Regions from separate parts of the Homo sapiens genome. Here region 2 is linked to region 1. The links are contacts of gene promoters, found by promoter capture Hi-C in blood cells and fetal thymus (Javierre and others, 2016). All regions are on one chromosome and are shown on one strand. The core of a region is centred on a gene start or on the middle of the fragment in contact, and the rest is flanking DNA. Distances in the headings are between cores, read along the strand shown. Region 1 holds the start of KIAA1191. Region 2 overlaps EIF4E1B (eukaryotic translation initiation factor 4E family member 1B).

Region 1 (3,943 bases), core at 665-3,164:
GCTGGAGTGCAGTAGTGTGATCTCAGGCCTCCCAAAGTGCTGGGATTACAGGCATGAGCCACCACACCCAGCCAGAAATAAATTTTTCAAAAGAATCAATGCCGGAAGAAATAAGATGTAGCTAAAACATCACTATCTGGGAGGAGAGGAGCATATATATGTAGTCAAAGGGAAAGGGGGACAAATCAGAAGGAATAGGGGCTGGGACCCAGAGCCAGGGGTACAGAGGAATCGCGAACTAAAAGGAGGTGAAGAGTTGAGACAATATAAAGGGAAAGAGGTAGCCCTGCTGGGCCCTGAGAGCCACAGGCGGTCTCTCAACCCATGTACCCTACAGCCAGCCGTACATGGCGTCACCCCTCTGGAGAGCCAAAAGAACCCGACTGCTGTACTCAGGTCGTTTCTCCTGTTCTTCCTCCTCGTGCTACACACGTGGAAGCCTTGGCAGTCACTGGGGGTACCTAGGACAAGGCAGACTGCAGCCTCCGTCTCCCAGGTTCAAGAGATTCTCCTGCCTCAGTCTCCAGAATAGCTGGGATTACAGGCACCTGTCACTACGCCTGGCTGATTTTTGTATTTTAGTAGAGACGGGGTTTCGCCGTGTTGGCCAGGATGGTCTCGAACGCCTCAGCCTCTGAAAGTGTTGGGATTACAGGCCTGAACCACCGTGCCCAGCCAGAAAAAGTTGTTTTAATCAAATAGTAACTTCCAGGAAAGTCTTAAGTTTTCATGTATTTGTGGCTAAGAAATAAATGAGATGATCCCACCTTATGATCTACATAAGGGTGCAAAGTGCTATTTCTTCCTTTTCTGACTGAGAGGTGATATACATCCCTTCCTGTGGTGGATAAAGAGCAAGGTGCCAGCTTTGCTTCCACAGAGGTTAAAAAATATGGCATATTTTAAAAGCTCCAAATTAACAAAGGAACACCTTTAACACACACACGCACGCACACATATACACACAATTATACTGCAATGTAATTGTGCTGTTGATAAGCTAATTATAGAATTCATCAAAGACTTTAATTCTTAGTGCACTCAAGCACCCTGGTCTGGAAACAGCGCTTAAGTTTCAAGTCGCATGAGCAAGGCCTCTCAGTTCTGCCAGTACGGCTGGAAGCCTCAAATGCTGAAATCTAAATGTGACATTCACCCTGCACCACCAATCATAGCTCTCCTGAGATGAGTTTTGATGGCGAGCTTTGGACTGGGGTAGAAACGTGGATAGATTTTTGCAAATTCTGCTGTAACTTCGTTGCTTCGCCTTCTTTGTGAACCCTTCAGGGATAAGAGAAGTCTTCCTTCAGGATGTGACTGACACCTCAGCTGGCGCCTCTAAGCCTCACTCTCCTTTATGTAAAAGAGAAATGATATTAGGATCGCCTTCCCTAGGGGAGGCAGGTGAGGTCGGTTCCCTTTTTTGGTTCAGCTACTAGTACGAACCCTGCCTAACCCCGCTGTTTTGGGAGACAGTCCGTGCTCACTGCACCGCTTGCTAATCGAAGTGACTTCTCATCTCTCCCAGTCTCAGCTTCACCTCCGTGAAGTGGGAAAAACAGGATGACAAGTGCTCGCACTTGGCAGCCCTTTTTGAGCCTTGAGGGCTTGGGTTTGTGGGTGTCATTTTACTATGCTACCTCCGTCTTCCCTTAGCTTGTCACGGACCCAGGCACAGCACACGCGCTGAGGAAGTGGTGGTGAAGTGTGGCGTTTCCTCTCGGGGCTGGCGGATTCCACACTCGGAGCTGCGGCTCCACAACTCGCTGGGCGGCGAAGGGCATGGGGAGGGGGCGGGTCTCGCGATCGTGGACAACAACTCCCAGCATGCCCTGTGCTCCGCTGGGCCAAGTCTCGCGCGAGATCCCGCGGTCTCCGGAGGCTTTATCTGCAGTGCTGCCTGCCCGCTGGGTGGTACTGCTACCTAGTGGGTCTTGGGGACCTTCGAAATCGCCGCCGCTCTCACAATGGCTTGGGTCCAGACTGCGCCACAGCCTCTCGGGAGACGTGGGCCCTCGGAACCTTTTTAGTGCCGGACTCCGGGCCGCAGGCAGTCCCGCGGCAGCAGGATCACAGGTGAACAGATGGCGGGCCTGGGCCCTCCCTTGGGGCTGCGTTCTCTGGCGATCAGGAGGGGCGCTTCCGGCGAGGCCCGATCTCGGGGCCCCTCCAAGCCACTCCCCTCTCCCCGCACCTCTTAACCCTTCATCCCGGCTTCGAGCTCGGCTGGGTCGCCTCTTGCCTCCCTGGCTCCGCTCTCTGGGGTCTCCGTAATGGGGCTTCTCTCCGGGAATGCCCTGCAGCTCCCGTACGGGCTTCCCCTCCGCTTCGTGGGACCAGCCCAGCCCGAGCCCCCGCGGCTTGTCCTCAACCTCATCTCCCCACACCCCGCCTTCGGCTAGGGTCCTGGCCCTAATCTTAGCCTGGAGGGGTGGGTGAAGCAGCCGGCCTTTCGTATCCTGGCGGCACCGTCTTGTATATTGTGAAGGAGAGGCAGAGGGACGGTGAGCTGGGGGGTGGGGGCACAGGGAAAGGGAAAGGGGAAGGGGACGTGTCTGGGGCGGGAATGCTCCCTGGACTGGGAGGATGGCTGAATTCGGCCTTTGCGATGCTCGTTAGTGAAGAACTATCAATAACTTGTTTGCTCTGTCTGAGTCCTATCGGGATAGAGGGACGGTGTAGCAAGCTGAAAAACAAGAGTAACTTTCTCAGGCCCTCGTTTTAACTCCCCTGTAAACTGGGCATGAAACTACCTACCTTGCGCACGGACCACTTATCTGTGACCGTGGACAAATTTACTTAACTCCTCTGATTTTTAGTTTCCTTCTCTTTATTATTATTTTTAACATTTTTTTAATTTTTTTAATTTTTATTTTTGAGACCGAGTCTCACTCCGTCGCCCAGGCTGGAGTACAGTGGCTCGATCTCGGCTCACTGCAACCTCCGCCTCCCGGGTTCAAGCTATTCTCCTGCCTCAGCCTCCCGAGTAGCTGGGATTACAGGCGCCCGCCACCATGCCCGGCTAATTTTTGTATTTTTAGTAGAGATGGGGTTTCACCATGTTGGCCAGGCTAGTCTCGAACTCCTGACCTCAAGTGATCTGCCCGCCTGGGTCTCGCAAAATGCTGGGATTACAGGCGTGAGCCACCGCACCCGGCCAGTTTCCTTCTCTTTAAATTTGGGATAGCCTTTCTGTAAGAGATAGCTTAAAAAAAAAACTGGGGTCGGGCGCGGTGGCTCACGCTTGTAATCCTAGCACTTTGGGAGGCCGAGGTGGGCGGATCGCAAGGTCAGGAGATCAAGACCATCCTGGCTAGTGCGGTGAAACCCCATCTCTACTAAAAATACAAAAAATTAGCCAGGCGTGGTGGCAGACGCCTGTAGTCCCAGCTACTTGGGAGGCTAAGGCAGGAGAATGGCGTGAACCCGGGAGGTGGAGCTTGCAGTGAGCCAAGATCGCGCCACTGCACTCCAGCCTGGGCGACAGAGTGAGACTCCGTCTCAAAAAAAAAAAAAAAAAAAAATTGGGATTGGGATAAATAATATCTGCTTTGCCATCTTGCTGCAAGGATTAAAAGACAAGATAAACGCTGTAAATAGTTTATAGTGTTAGCTATAAAGAACAAATTTCCCTACTGTAGTATCTAGCCGCTTGCTGTGAGTTAAGAAAATGAAATGAGCAAGGTTGTTGTGGGGAATAAACAAGTGTTTGGCAGACTCTGACGGGCTGTTCCAATGCTGGCTGTTTGTTGTTATTAGAACCTCTGGATGGACTCTTCCTGGGAAGCTTTGCTACTTTGCAGCAGCTGGACCATGTTCCTCATTAACATCTGTCTGTCCGCTTAGTCATCACATCATTTCACTGTGGTAAGGTGACTTTTTCACCATGTATGGCATCTTAGCTCTGTCATCTCACAGGTGTTAAGATCAGCCACAGGTGTGG
Region 2 (3,943 bases), core at 1,429-3,928, 280 kb before region 1:
GTGGAGTCGCATCAGGCTCACCTTCACCCAGCGGAAATCCAGCTCTACTTATCCTGACTCAAACTCAGGCCAAACGAGGGCCTGGGCCTTGGTGCCACGCCGGCTGCGCCCTGCCAGGGGCATATGCCCCCCGGAACCTGGCTCAAGCCCCCTTGGTGGCTGAGTTTCCCCAGCCACACCCCCTGTCCTCCATACTGGCCAGGGTCCCGGTCAGGCTCCTTGGTACCCAGTGATCTCACATGAGCCCCTGTAAGACAGGACAGAGGCAGATCAAAGTTTGGGGGAACCTGAATCTTACTCCAGTTTGAAGCCCTCTTAAAAATAATTCCAACTTTGTTCAGAAGTATTTATTTAAAACAGGAACAGAAAGATGCTTAAGCTTTTATTATCAAGTTTATCCACTTCCACCACTTCTACCAGAACCTTGGTGAGGCCTAGCCCAGCATCCCTCCACCTCCACTTCAGTCTGGCCCTGAGGCAGGCAAGGCCCAGACAGCCCTGGTCACAGCTGGGGAGAAGGGGAGCGGCCTTGCAAGGCTCTCTCAGTCCTCAGCAACCCACGTATCCCTCTGTACAAATGATGGCGTTCACCCTCCAGAATGTCTGTGCCCTTGAGCCCACCACCCATGGAAGAGTCTGTCTCTCAGGCCACCTCACCTCCTTCCTGGGTGGAAACAGTAAACGCTGGACTATGGGTTTCTCCGCCTACCATAGAGCCCTCCTTCCCCGCCATGACTCACCCCACCCTCAGGAGTTTTTTCCACCCTGCTGCTGTCCTGTGGCCCCAGGACAAGCTAGGTCCTCAGACTGCCACCACTACCCCCATCTAGCCCCTAAGGCTCAGGCCCCAACTCATGTTAAAGAGTGTTTGCATTCCTGTTCACTTGAGGACAGGTAAGAACTAGGCTGTCTGATCCCCAGTCCCGCCCCATCCCCCAAAGTAATGAGGCTCAGTGGCGGCTGTCCCATTACATAGGAGGGGTGCCAAGGCCCCCCTCACACCACAAACTTGTTCTTGGCTAGGGAGTTGCTCTTGGTGGCTGTGTCTGCATGGGCCTGGTACCCAATGATGGTCTTTGGGGAGAGGCCCAGGCGCTCTTTGTATACACGCCTGCAGGTGCGGGGGACACAGAGGAAAAGAGACACAGGTAGTCATCAGAGGGTCCTAGAGATAACTTAGGCCACCAGACTCCTACCCTCATTCTGGCCACAGCCACACCTGTTGTGTCTTACCCATGTGGAAACCCAAAATATGACCCCCTTAATGCAAAAGGAGAGCTGCACTGCCGTAAGAGAAAGTTAGAAATCTGAACGCCAGACCTTCCATACAGGTGGGCAAGGCAGAAGGGAGGGAGGCTATGGAGACTTTCAGAGGTCTCCCATGCAGGCCAAGCCCCCTCCACCCACCTTCCCTCTAGCAGAGACCCAAGTCCCCACCCTGTGCCAGAGACCCTCCTCACCCAACGTGCAGCACGCCCGCCTGGTTTTCCGCCTCCCTCGTCCACACAGCGATCTTGTCCCCCTTGGTGCGGATGTTGACGACGGCCCCACATACCTCTCTGCTGTGTTCCTCAAAGCTCTCCCCGATCAGACACAGCAGCTGGACCCGAAGTAGGGGGTTGTGAGATCACCGGCTGGGACATAGGGACTGGCCTGCCATCCTTGAGACCACTGCCACCATGAGACCCACACAGCCCGTCTCTTCCCCTGAGGACCCTCCTCCTCCAACTCACCGTCTCCAGCCACAGCCGGTCCAGCTCAATGTGGCGCTGCTGCTTGGCCAGGCTGACCAGCCAGCGGCCACCCCGTTTATTCCTGCTGTCCTCCCACATGGGCTGGATGCCATCCTGCAAGGCAGATGGCAAGTCAACTGCCTCCCTGTGTTCAAAGGGAAATGGGGACCCACCCACCATCCCGGCCTTATCCGCTCTCTGCTGAGGCCCTAAGTAGGCCAGATTCTCTTATCCTCCCTTCCCTCAGTGCAAGCAGGTTCCACCCCCAGCCACTCAGCTCCCCCCGACAGACAGCACTGGTCACCTTGTATAGCCTTGTATATGTGCATGTCTCTTTTACTGAGTTCCTTAAGACAAGCATTCAAATCGGGGTGGATTAAGGAAGCCTCAGGGGCAGACCCCAATGCAGGCAAGGGGGACATCCCAGGCTTGGCTGCATGGTTCCCAGGCAGGGCAGAAGTCACTGGGGAGATCTCTAAACACAATGTCAGCCCTCCAGGGATGGGTGTGGCATCAATGAGTGTCCTCAAGCAATTCTGATGCCCTTCCCTAGTTAAGGAGCCAGGTCAGAAATCTCTCCCTCTCCCTCTTCCCGCCTCTTAAGGTCCTCCAAGGTGCGGCTTGGGCCTGACCTACTCTGTCCGGGCTCCTGTAGAGCATTTCCTCCAGTCAGAAACCACAACTCTGCTGAGAGGTGGCCCGTAGCTCCCCACCCCCACCCCTCTGAGGGATTAACGCAGTGGAGTCCGGGAGGGATCAACCCCTTGTCCCTTTGCGGGAGGGAAAGAGGAGAGCAGAGCTTACCTTGAAGAGGGCGTAGTCACAGCCAGAGGAGAGCTTGCTGGCCAGCTGGATGTGACTGTATAGCCTGGACAGAGCCCCCGACCCCATGCCAAAAGTCAAGGCTTTTTAGGGCCTGGTTCCAACTGGGTTCAGCCCTCCCAACTCCTCATCCGACCCCATGGCCTCCAAGCCTTTGCTTACACTGGCCTGCCACCTGGGATTCCACTCCCGTTTATCCAAACTCTCAAGACCCACCTTTTCCACAGAGCCTTCCCAGTGAAGGCTGAGCCAACCCCTGGGGAGGGTTTTAGACCCCCTGGTGCTCCCCCCTCCAGCTACAGCCGAGGCCTTCTCACCCTCCCTAGGGCTTGTGTAGCCCTTTTCAGAGCCACTCCCGTGAGCACCCGGACACTGAGGCAGCCGAGTCCTCCCTTTGCAGCTGAGACAGGTTCAGAGAGGGGAAGGAACTTGCCCAGGTCACAAAGCCCTGGAGTGGCCGAGTCAAGGTCAGCTTCCTGCTTCTCCTGCTCCCCAGGCTCTCTCCCTGAGCCCAAAGAAGGTGGTGGGGTGGGGGGTGGTTGTGCCCTATACCCCCTGGGCAGAACCCACAAAGCCCCAGCCCTCACAAAGGCTGAAAGGCCCTAGGGAGGGCTGGCTCAACCCGGAGAGAGGGAGCCCAGAGCTCAGAGCCCCCCAACTCTAGCCCCACTGGGGACAGACACTCACGCCCAGAAGTCCTCCACAGTGTCCACCTTGGTGACCAGGTGCAGGTTGTCCTGCCAGGCCCGGCTGCGGTCATTCTTGAAGAACCACAGAGCCCACCTGGTAGGGGAAGGGGGAGGCAGCCAGGAGGAAGCAGAGAGCCAAGTCCACCCCCGGGGCACCTGGACTGACAGGGAGGACCCTCCCCTTCAAGGGCGAACTGGGAGATGAGATTTGGGGCACAGCATTCCCCTCTCAGGTGAATGAAATCAGTTGTCCTGAAGGGCAGGGGAGGAGTGGGGGTGTTTGACCCACAGTCTCTGCGGGGTTAGGGCTGGAAGGGCCAACAGGGCCCAAGGCTTAGGTCAGCCCTGGCCTCCCACGGATGAAGAGCTAGGGCCAAGAGAGGCGGGGTTGCCCAAGGCCACGCTGCCAGCACAGAGGCTGGCCTGAAAGCAAGGGGCTGTGTTCCACTCGCAGGCTCCTGCCTACCTGTTCTGCAAGGGGTGCAGCTCCAGCTTGACTTCCATGGGGCCCCCCGTCCGGGCCTTCCCTCTCAGAGACAGCAAAGTCCTGGGAGAGTTTGGAGACTTTTCTCCTGTGGGCGTCCTCTCTGCTGCCTCCTCCTCCTTCTCCTCCTCCTCCCACTCTCGGATTCCACCCTCAGCTTCACTCACCTGAGCCAAAAAAAGGAGTCAGGATGGGTTGTGAGCTCTGGCCCTGGC

What was found. The method cuts DNA at HindIII sites, captures the fragments that hold promoters and counts their contacts. A CHiCAGO score of 5 or more calls a contact.
Region 2: a contact is called between a fragment that was not itself captured here and the fragment with the promoter of KIAA1191 in region 1, in 7 of 17 cell types (non-activated CD4 T cells, naive CD8 T cells, naive B cells and 4 more). The highest score is 7.2, in non-activated CD4 T cells.

What each region holds. Positions count from the first base shown.
Region 1 is chr5:176,359,735-176,363,677 of GRCh38, reverse strand. It overlaps KIAA1191, which reads left to right and starts at 1,914. Exons shown (of 9, transcript NM_020444.5): 1 at 1,914-2,076; 2 at 3,760-3,867. RefSeq lists an enhancer at 1,839-2,158. The HindIII fragment of the contact is 14,901 bases long and covers 1-3,789 here.
Region 2 is chr5:176,643,034-176,646,976 of GRCh38, reverse strand. It overlaps EIF4E1B (eukaryotic translation initiation factor 4E family member 1B), which reads right to left. Exons shown (of 9, transcript NM_001099408.2): 4 at 3,711-3,895; 5 at 3,243-3,338; 6 at 2,538-2,601; 7 at 1,734-1,847; 8 at 1,461-1,600; 9 at 333-1,111. The coding sequence ends at 997. Among named protein-coding and RNA genes, the nearest start is that of TSPAN17, 2.5 kb to the left of the region's middle. RefSeq lists enhancers at 595-889, 1,160-1,670, 2,252-2,891, 2,892-3,533. The HindIII fragment of the contact is 4,593 bases long and covers 382-3,943 here.